3 separate regions of the Homo sapiens genome follow, and all the other regions are linked to region 2. The links are contacts of gene promoters, found by promoter capture Hi-C in blood cells and fetal thymus (Javierre and others, 2016). All regions are on one chromosome and are shown on one strand. Each heading gives the region's core, a stretch centred on a gene start or on the middle of the fragment in contact. The rest is flanking DNA. Distances are from core to core; before and after follow the strand shown. Region 1 holds the start of RPS27A (ribosomal protein S27a). Region 2 holds the start of CHAC2 (ChaC glutathione specific gamma-glutamylcyclotransferase 2). Region 3 holds the start of MTIF2 (mitochondrial translational initiation factor 2).

The links. The method cuts DNA at HindIII sites, captures the fragments that hold promoters and counts their contacts. A CHiCAGO score of 5 or more calls a contact.
Region 1: a contact is called between a fragment that was not itself captured here and the fragment with the promoter of CHAC2 in region 2, in 1 of 17 cell types (non-activated CD4 T cells). The highest score is 6.2, in non-activated CD4 T cells.
Region 3: a fragment that was not itself captured here is called in contact with the fragment with the promoter of CHAC2 in region 2 in 2 of 17 cell types (total B cells and naive CD4 T cells); the score reaches 7.5 in total B cells.

What each region holds. Positions count from the first base shown.
Region 1 is chr2:55,232,648-55,235,347 of GRCh38, forward strand. RPS27A (ribosomal protein S27a) reads left to right here and starts at 41. Exons shown (of 6, transcript NM_002954.6): 1 at 41-61; 2 at 161-225; 3 at 716-770; 4 at 1,472-1,557; 5 at 2,184-2,315. The coding sequence starts at 178. RefSeq lists enhancers at 1-120, 141-320. The HindIII fragment of the contact is 1,813 bases long and covers 345-2,157 here.
Region 2 is chr2:53,766,299-53,769,226 of GRCh38, forward strand. It overlaps CHAC2 (ChaC glutathione specific gamma-glutamylcyclotransferase 2), which reads left to right and starts at 1,506. Exons shown (of 3, transcript NM_001008708.4): 1 at 1,506-1,723. The coding sequence starts at 1,589. The region is part of intron 1 of ASB3 (ankyrin repeat and SOCS box containing 3); the gene reads right to left. The region is part of intron 1 of GPR75-ASB3 (GPR75-ASB3 readthrough); the gene reads right to left. RefSeq lists enhancers at 1,478-1,827, 1,848-2,037. The HindIII fragment of the contact is 6,206 bases long and covers 1-2,928 here.
Region 3 is chr2:55,267,342-55,270,041 of GRCh38, forward strand. It overlaps MTIF2 (mitochondrial translational initiation factor 2), which reads right to left and starts at 1,890. Exons shown (of 16, transcript NM_002453.3): 1 at 1,828-1,890; 2 at 1,237-1,398; 3 at 228-294. RefSeq lists enhancers at 1,833-1,982, 1,928-2,700. The HindIII fragment of the contact is 171 bases long and covers 1,290-1,460 here.

The sequences.
Region 1 (2,700 bases), core at 1-2,500, 1.5 Mb after region 2:
GGAGCTCCGGGAAACCCCGTGGGCCTGCGCGGCGTTCTTCCTTTTCGATCCGCCATCTGCGGTGGGTGTCTGCACTTCGGCTGCTCTCGGGTTAGCACCCTATGGTGCCTTCTCTTGTGATCCCTGACCTAACCTGTCTCTTCCTTTTCCTCAACCTCAGGTGGAGCCGCCACCAAAATGCAGATTTTCGTGAAAACCCTTACGGGGAAGACCATCACCCTCGAGGTACGGGCCGGGTGGTCATGAGGAAGCCAAGGTCCGAATAAGGTCCTGAGGTGGATTTTAGGACCGGCGCTGCTTTCCATGTCTTAGACCATGATTCCGAATTTGGGTTCTAAAACTTAAGCTTTGAAATGAGTACCTTTTGCTGAGCAACGACCTAGAGGTGATTTTCGGTGGCCAAAGGCTGGACCTGTCTCCTCTCGAGGGGTTCCAGCTAGTTAGTTAAAACGGAGGAGCTGCGGTGGGGAAGGAGACGCTCTGCCCGCCGGGTGCGAGCACGTGTGGCCCTGCGGCCGCCGCCCGCTCTGGGCTGGGGAGATGAAGGTGCTTTCCGGTAGCCGACTTGGGAGGTTGCCCACTGGGTGGGTAATAGGTCTCTCGAGTAGGTCTCAGCCCTGTCGCTGGTTCGGTTCAGTGGTAATTGTCAAACTAAATGAGTTCTGCTGTAGTTCCTTAATGTGTAACCAACATGCTTTCACTTTAACACTCATAGGTTGAACCCTCGGATACGATAGAAAATGTAAAGGCCAAGATCCAGGATAAGGAAGGCAAGTAGTATTTTGTAGTTAAGAAAACTTAACCTGCGGAGACTTCGGCCTACCTGTAGGTGCTAGACATACCTGCTCTTGGTGATGGGGGAAGGGGTCAGATTGACAAAGCGAAATACTTGTGGAATAACACAATAGACATTGGTGATCGGGGAGCACAGTACCTAGATTGGAATCCTTGAGGTGTATTTCACTTGCGTGAATTTGGACACTTATTTATTTATTTTGTGTGAGATGGAGTCTCCTCTGTCGCCCAGGCTGGAGTGCATTCGCTTGTCCCGGCTTACTGCAGCCTCCGCCTCCCGGGTTCAAGTGATTTTTGTGCTTCAGCCTCCCTATTAGTGGGGATTACAGGCGTGCACCACCATGCCTGGCTAATTTATTGTATTTTTAGTAGAGACTGGGTTTTACCTTGTTGGCCAGGCTGGTTTTGAACTTTTCACATCAAGTGATCTGCCCACCTCGACCTCCCAAAGTATTGGTATTACAGGTGTCAGCCACTGCAGACAACCAAGTATTGTCCCTAATATTAAATGCGGTAAAATGTGACATGTAAAGATTTAGAACCATGCCTAACCTCTAGTAAGGGCTTATTGTCAGCCTTTAGTATCATGTATTTGATTAAGGGGTGTTACCTTATAAGTCTGGAGCACATCACAGGCTTGGTGTGCTGTGACTTAATTTTTGTTTTTTGTCATTAGGAATTCCTCCTGATCAGCAGAGACTGATCTTTGCTGGCAAGCAGCTGGAAGATGGACGTACTTTGTCTGACTACAATATTCAAAAGGTCTGTCTAGGGGAAGAGCAGCCTCTTTTAAAAAAAAAATGTTATTTTGGAAATTTTTTATTTTACTTTTTTTGAGACAGGCTCTGACTCTGTCACCTAGGGTGGAGTGAGTGGCGCAGTCACTGCAACCTCCACCTCTCAGACTCAGGTGGTCCTCCCACCTCAGCCTCCTGTAGTTGGAACTATAGGCACCCGCCACCATGCCCAGGCTGGTCTCAAACTCCTGGGCATAAGTGATCTTCCCACCGTGGCCTCCCAGCGCTGGGATTACAGACGTGAGCCACTCCATGTGGTGTATTCTGGACATTTTGACACACAAAAAGGGAAAATGGCATTCGAATAGCAGTAGATTTTTAGGTAACTCCTATACTGATACTTGAGAAGCACTGCTATAGTTCTCCCATTATGAATTTTGCAAGTTGTATCCCATGGTGTAATGTAATGCATTCTTTAATGTCCCTATAAACTGTCAGTTAAGAATCTGATACTTTATTGGGTTTGGGGGCTGCAAGATTCCCTCAAATGTTATTGTGTGCTGCTACTGCTTTTAATTAGAAAATGCATAATGTTGGGTGTGCCCATTCTTAGTGGAATCATGAAAGCTTGCTTCATTCTTCCATTAACAGGAGTCTACTCTTCATCTTGTGTTGAGACTTCGTGGTGGTGCTAAGAAAAGGAAGAAGAAGTCTTACACCACTCCCAAGAAGAATAAGCACAAGAGAAAGAAGGTTAAGCTGGCTGTCCTGAAATATTATAAGGTGAGCCAGTTAAAGGGCAGAATGTCAGCAAAGTCTTGGCTTATTTGGAAAACTTAATCTTTATAGTACTTGTCAATATTTTCTTGGACTTAAACACCCAATATTATCCCACTTTGGTTTAAATGAGGTATTCTGGAAATGAGAAATTCAGACTTTCTGGGGTTTTTCCTGTTTGGTATTTGAAATCAGTTATGTAATAGGGTTCTGAGTTTAAAGTCGGGTTTGGGTTCAGGTCTTTACCTTTGTCTACCACTTGCAAAGCTGGCCTTTAGTGTTCAAAAGTCCCAAGACTTCTGAATGTTTTCATTGTAGCAATGATAACTGGTGAGAATTTAGGGTGCTTTGGTTTGTAAGCACCAAAACCACCAGTATTACACAGTTAAAA
Region 2 (2,928 bases), core at 256-2,755:
TTCAAGTTCCCCTCCAGTCAGAGTCCAGTATAGCTCTCATGTGACTCTCTCGAAGACACAATTTCTTGTTAGTGACTCTATGAAGCAGTTTGGATATGGAATACTTATTTGATTACATAACTATTGTTAATTTTCTCAGATGTGATAATGGCATCACAGTTATTAGGAGAATGCCCTTATTCTTTTTTTTTAGGGAACTTGTTCTAGGATGAATGTCCTTATTCTTATGAGACACATGTAGAGTATGTGGCAGTAAAATGTCATAACACAAGCAACTTCAAATGTTCTCCATTTAAAAGTATAAATAAAGTAAAAAGGAAGTACAGCAACTGTGCAAAATGGTAATTACTGGATCTAGATGAAAGGTATTGGTCATTACACTCTTTTTATCTGAGTTTTCTGTGTATTCAAAATTTTTCAAAAAAGAAGGGTTAGCAACCATATCAGGCAATTTGAAACCACAACTTAGAGAAAATAGGAAAAGACTTGCTTTTTTTTTTGTTTGTTTGTCTGGTAGCAGCTTCCTGCTGATTTCTTTATAAGAAAACAAATAATACCCCTTGAATCTGAGTGTTTTAGCATTCAAGATCATGGTATAAAAATCTTCAAGAAAGAACAATCACTTGGTAAGGTTTCTGTTTTCACACACAGAGACACAGCCATGATAGTCCAAGCGAATTTCCTAAACAATATTTTGCAGCAAGAGCTCTAATGAGCAGATCTTCAAAAAATTTTAGGATCCTTGACCCCTTGGAGAAACTCATGAAAGCTGTAGTTTCCCCCTAGAAAAGTGTACACCCCAAATTTTGTATACAAATTCAGGTTCCCCAGCTCGTTTCCAAAGCCTTTACAGGGGCCCCAAGTTAAGAACATTTGCCTGCTCTTTTGTGAACAAGCCAATGATAATACTAAAGATGAATAAATTTGTGTAAAATTTAAATATATAAACAATTCCCATTGAAATGACAGCTACTCTTTCACAAGCGTAAACTTCTATTGTAAACTTTCTGCTTTTATTTGAAAGGCAAAAGACTTTTTTTTCAGGACATAAAATCAAATATGAATTACATTCCTCTGGCTGCTGTTATATAGGCAAAAATCTAATTTCCAAAGCAGAACAAAACGTGTTTCTAGGTGCTTTGCTACCTGCGGTGCTGGTACACCGCCTCCGTATCTGGACACGAGTGACGACTCCTGCTCTTTTCTCCTTCCTCGGCCCCGTTAGAAATAAGCCCAGTTCCAATTTCAGAGCCAAATAGCTCCAAAAAGCATTGTGGGTATTGTAGTTTTCTGCACACGGGCACTAAAGGTAGGTTAGGGTGATTTACGGATGCTGCAAAAGAATCCATTGCTTACTACACCGAAGGTCAATGCCTCTTGACACCCTAATCAAGGAAATAAAATAAAGCTGACTGAGATCCGCTCGGAAAATCTTTCTGGATCTAAACTCCCAGTGCGCTTTGCGCCCCAAGTGGCCATCGCGCCTGCGCCCCGCGCGGCCGGTTACTCGCTTACCGGAGGCTTCAGTCCCCGGCGGCGCGGCGACAGCTAGGGTTCACGGCCACTGGGGCAGAGGAGCCGCGAGAAGATGTGGGTTTTTGGTTACGGGTCCCTGATCTGGAAGGTGGATTTCCCCTATCAGGACAAGCTGGTCGGATACATCACCAACTACAGCAGGCGCTTCTGGCAGGGCAGCACGGACCACCGCGGGGTCCCCGGCAAGGTGAGGCGCCGGTCAGCTCCCCACACTTACTGCCCCCTGACCCCTGCTCCCCAACTCCACACACAGCACCCACACCCTAGAGAACCACACCTTAGCGCTTCATGGGGCCAAAGCACATGGCTTGGGGTAACATTTCTGTAGATTTTCCCTGCCACCTGCCCGCCATCTCTAACCCAGCCCGGGCACTCCTTCCGAAGCTGCTTAAGATGCCGGTGGTTAGTCTCTAGAGACGGCGAGAAGCGCGGGCACAGGCGCACGAGCTCGCACCAGGCTGAGTGCGGAGATGGGGACTCCATCTCTCTGCAACCTCTGCCAAAAGAAAAAAAGTCCCATTGGCGGGAAGATGAATGCTCATGTCACCACAGAGTTGAAATAGTAAATCAAGTTGCAAATTCAGCTTTTTAGCAATTAAATTTGTTGGCATTTCTGCATTCTAGCCGACTTTCATGAGCTTGCGATTAAACGTGCATGTTACTTCTAGGATTTCTTTACATCTTTCAAAAGTTTTATTTTCTGACACACAGGATTGCAGAATGAGTTTCCAAAATTTTCGCTGGTTATTAAGGAACTCACTTTGGTTTTCAGTACTAGTGAAGTTAAATGAAGTTCTGGTTATATGAATAACATAGTACCAAACTCATTACTATATCCAGCATTATTTTAATGTTACTTTCTTGATGGTTCTCATAATTATAATATGAAATGTAAGTTCATTGATTCACTTTTCAGTCAGTCCTACAAAGACATTAATCTCAATATATGTATAGAGAATTAGCAGCAGCTCACTGCTTATGCAAATCAGCTTTGTACTGGCTACAAAACAACTAATCCATAAAGAAAACTAAGATTGAGGTAACTAATAATTTGGAAATTGGTCAATGGAAAGTGGAAAAGATCAAGGCGCTAAAGTAGTTTGCACCTGCTCATAAGAGAGACATGGGATTAAAATCACGAAAAGAACCTGAATTAGAAACCATTCTATCTCAACTAGAGTTGGTCAGTTAAGAACTTGGCTTTTAAGTAGACTATACTGGCCTATTGGGATGTTGGACACAGTGACCTGAAAAGGGGCAATGGCTTAGGATAAATGCACATTTACAGATCAACAGAAATGTCATGGCCAAAGTATCTCCAAGAATGTTCTAGAACAATATTCAAGACATTAAAGAACTAAGCTAAATTAAATGGCTTCTGAGTTGTCAGTT
Region 3 (2,700 bases), core at 125-2,624, 1.5 Mb after region 2:
AGAGACGGGGTTTCACCGTGTTGGCCAGGCTGGTCTTGAACTCCTGACCTCAGGTGATCTATCCGCCTTGGCCTCCCAAAGTGCTGGGATTACAGGCGTGAGCCACCGCGCCTGGCCTATACTGAATATTTTTTAAAAGAAAGAAAAGAAATGATAACAGAAACAAGTACAGTATAGCAAAGAAAGTATCTTATTAGGCAACAAAGGAACCTTAGGTGGACACTCACTCTGACAGTCAGTGTTATCTGGACTCAGCAAGTCACTTGTTTCCTATGGGCCTCATTTTCCGGATCTCTGTTAAAAATAAATAAATAAATAAGTGTTTGAATATCTGTCCTTCCTATTACAAGACTAAGAGGAGAAAATGAGATGATGTATATACTTTATCATCAGCTATTTTAAAACCATATCACATGTCTTGATACTCGCTTATAAGCTTTGAGGATTCATTGCTTATAAGTTAAAAATATTCACAAGTCATTAACTTGTTTACCTTCGGACAATTATGAGGTTGTGTATGTGTGTGTAATCGAGCAAGCATTTTACCTTAAAAGGCTTATTCGAGTAAAGATCAAGGAAAAATCTAACTTAATGCCAACGAAATAAACACATTAAGATTTAGAAATTCAGGCTGGGCGTGATGGCTCATGCCTGTAATCCTAGCACTTTGGGAGGTCGAGGCGGGCGGATCACCTGAGGTCAGGAGTTCGAGACCAGCCTGGCCAACATGGTGAAACCCCCTCTCTACTAAAAGTACAAAAATTAGCCGGGTACGGTGGCGGGCGCCTGTAATCCCAGCGACTTGGGAGGCTGAGGCAGGAGAATCGCTTGAACCCAGGAGGCAGAGACTGCAGTGAGCCGAGATCAGGCCACTGCACTCCAGCCTGGGCGACAGTGAGACTCTGTCTAAAGAAAAAAAAAAGAAGATTTGGAAATTCATTCAATAGTATTTACACACATTAAATACTTCTAAGAATGGCACATGGAAAATATCTTATTTACGTTTGTGCCCCTGGACCAAGAAGTAGAGTGCTCAGGTAACACAGGATTCCTTGAGAAAATAATTTTTAAATCAGTATGAAACCAGATTTGAGAAGAGCACAGATTAATGGAGTGGGAGGAAGGACCCTACGAGATATTAACCAAAGCACAGATATGTAATTGAGGCAGGAACTGGAAAGACACATTGGAGGCAATAACCCAAATGTCAAAACTGGAAGGAAACTTGTCACTTACTCCAAGCTCCTCATTTTACAGAAAAGGAAACGGAAATCCAGAAGGGTCAAAAAAGCTTCTCCAATGTCATACCGCTAGTTAATGGCAGTCAAGACTAGAACCCAGACGTTCTGACTCCCAGTACGGTGTTGTTTCGCCGCTAGGATATCCTTGTCAAGGAATCTGAAAAAAGTATGTTGCAAATACGTAGTTGCGTTAGGGAAAACGTCTGAATGTGAGCTGGAAGCTTTGGAACTTACCAGAAAGGTAAAAATAAATCACTGCAGAAAAATTACGGATCTGGGGTGGCTCGCCTCAAATTGGAGCCCAGAAGGCCTTGGGCCCATGGGAGGCTGGGAAGTGAGGACCTGCACCCACAGCCGCGCGCGAGGAGGGGAAGCCGGCCAGCCGCTTCCGAGAGAACAGTGCACATGCCTTCGTGAATGCCTAACGTGGGCTCACGCAGGGATTAAATGCATCTTGGAAAGGCTTCCGAACGCACAATGTTTATGAAGTTCGCGTGATTTGTGCCACTGACACGTTAGGCGAAACAACACACACCACCTGCACCGGACAACCCTGGTTAAGGGATCCTACCCACTTAACTCCTACCTACAGCCCCGGGCCCCTGGATTCTGAGCACGGGCGGAGATCACCTTCTGGACCCGGAAGAATGGTCGGTAGGTCAGTCCGTCCCCGCTACGGTCCCCGCCGGGCTTCCGGTCCCGCTGGAAAAGGTTCTTTCCGGAATTCAGAGAGTTGCTGTCGCCGCTGGGGGTGGGACTGTCTGCGGTGTCCGCGGCGGGCGTCCAGCCTGGGAGGCGCTGGTTCAACCTGTGGCTCCTCCCAGGGTCAGCCGCGCGTGGTGAATCGTTTCTGCAGGTCCCTTCCATTTCTTACTTTCCTTTCCTTTCTTTCTCTCTTTCCTTTTTTTCTTTCTGTCCCTCTCCTTTCTTTCCTTCCTTCCTTTCTTCATTTCTTCCTTCCTTTCCTCTTCCTTCCTTTCCGTTTTTCTTTCTCTTTTTTTTTTTTTTAAGAAAACTGCCTTTATTCAATTAGAAGTTGGAAAAATTAACTGGTACAGAAAAAAAGTGTAATCAGCTGGAGAAAAAGTGCCACCCATGAGAACTGATGGCTCCTCTGGGAGGGAATCTGGATACAGTGAGGATTTCTAGGAAGCAAATTACTTCTTCTCTGGGGCTATGAGAGGCCTCGGTGGTGCTTAACACTGTAGGAAACGTTAAATGGAGAATTGTGGGAGAAATGATACCTCCTTCAAAGATACGTGTTCCTAACAAGAAGGAAAAAACAAATGCAAGCGAACAGTGGCGGTAGAACCAGTTAGTATTGTGCGAACAGTACTTTCTGTTTTCTCCTAAGTCAGCTCGTGTGTATGGCATTAGGAGTAATAGAGCCAGAGTGCCTGGTTTCCTATCCCAGCTCATTCCTAGTGTGTGGTTGGGAATGTTTTGTCAACTGTCCATG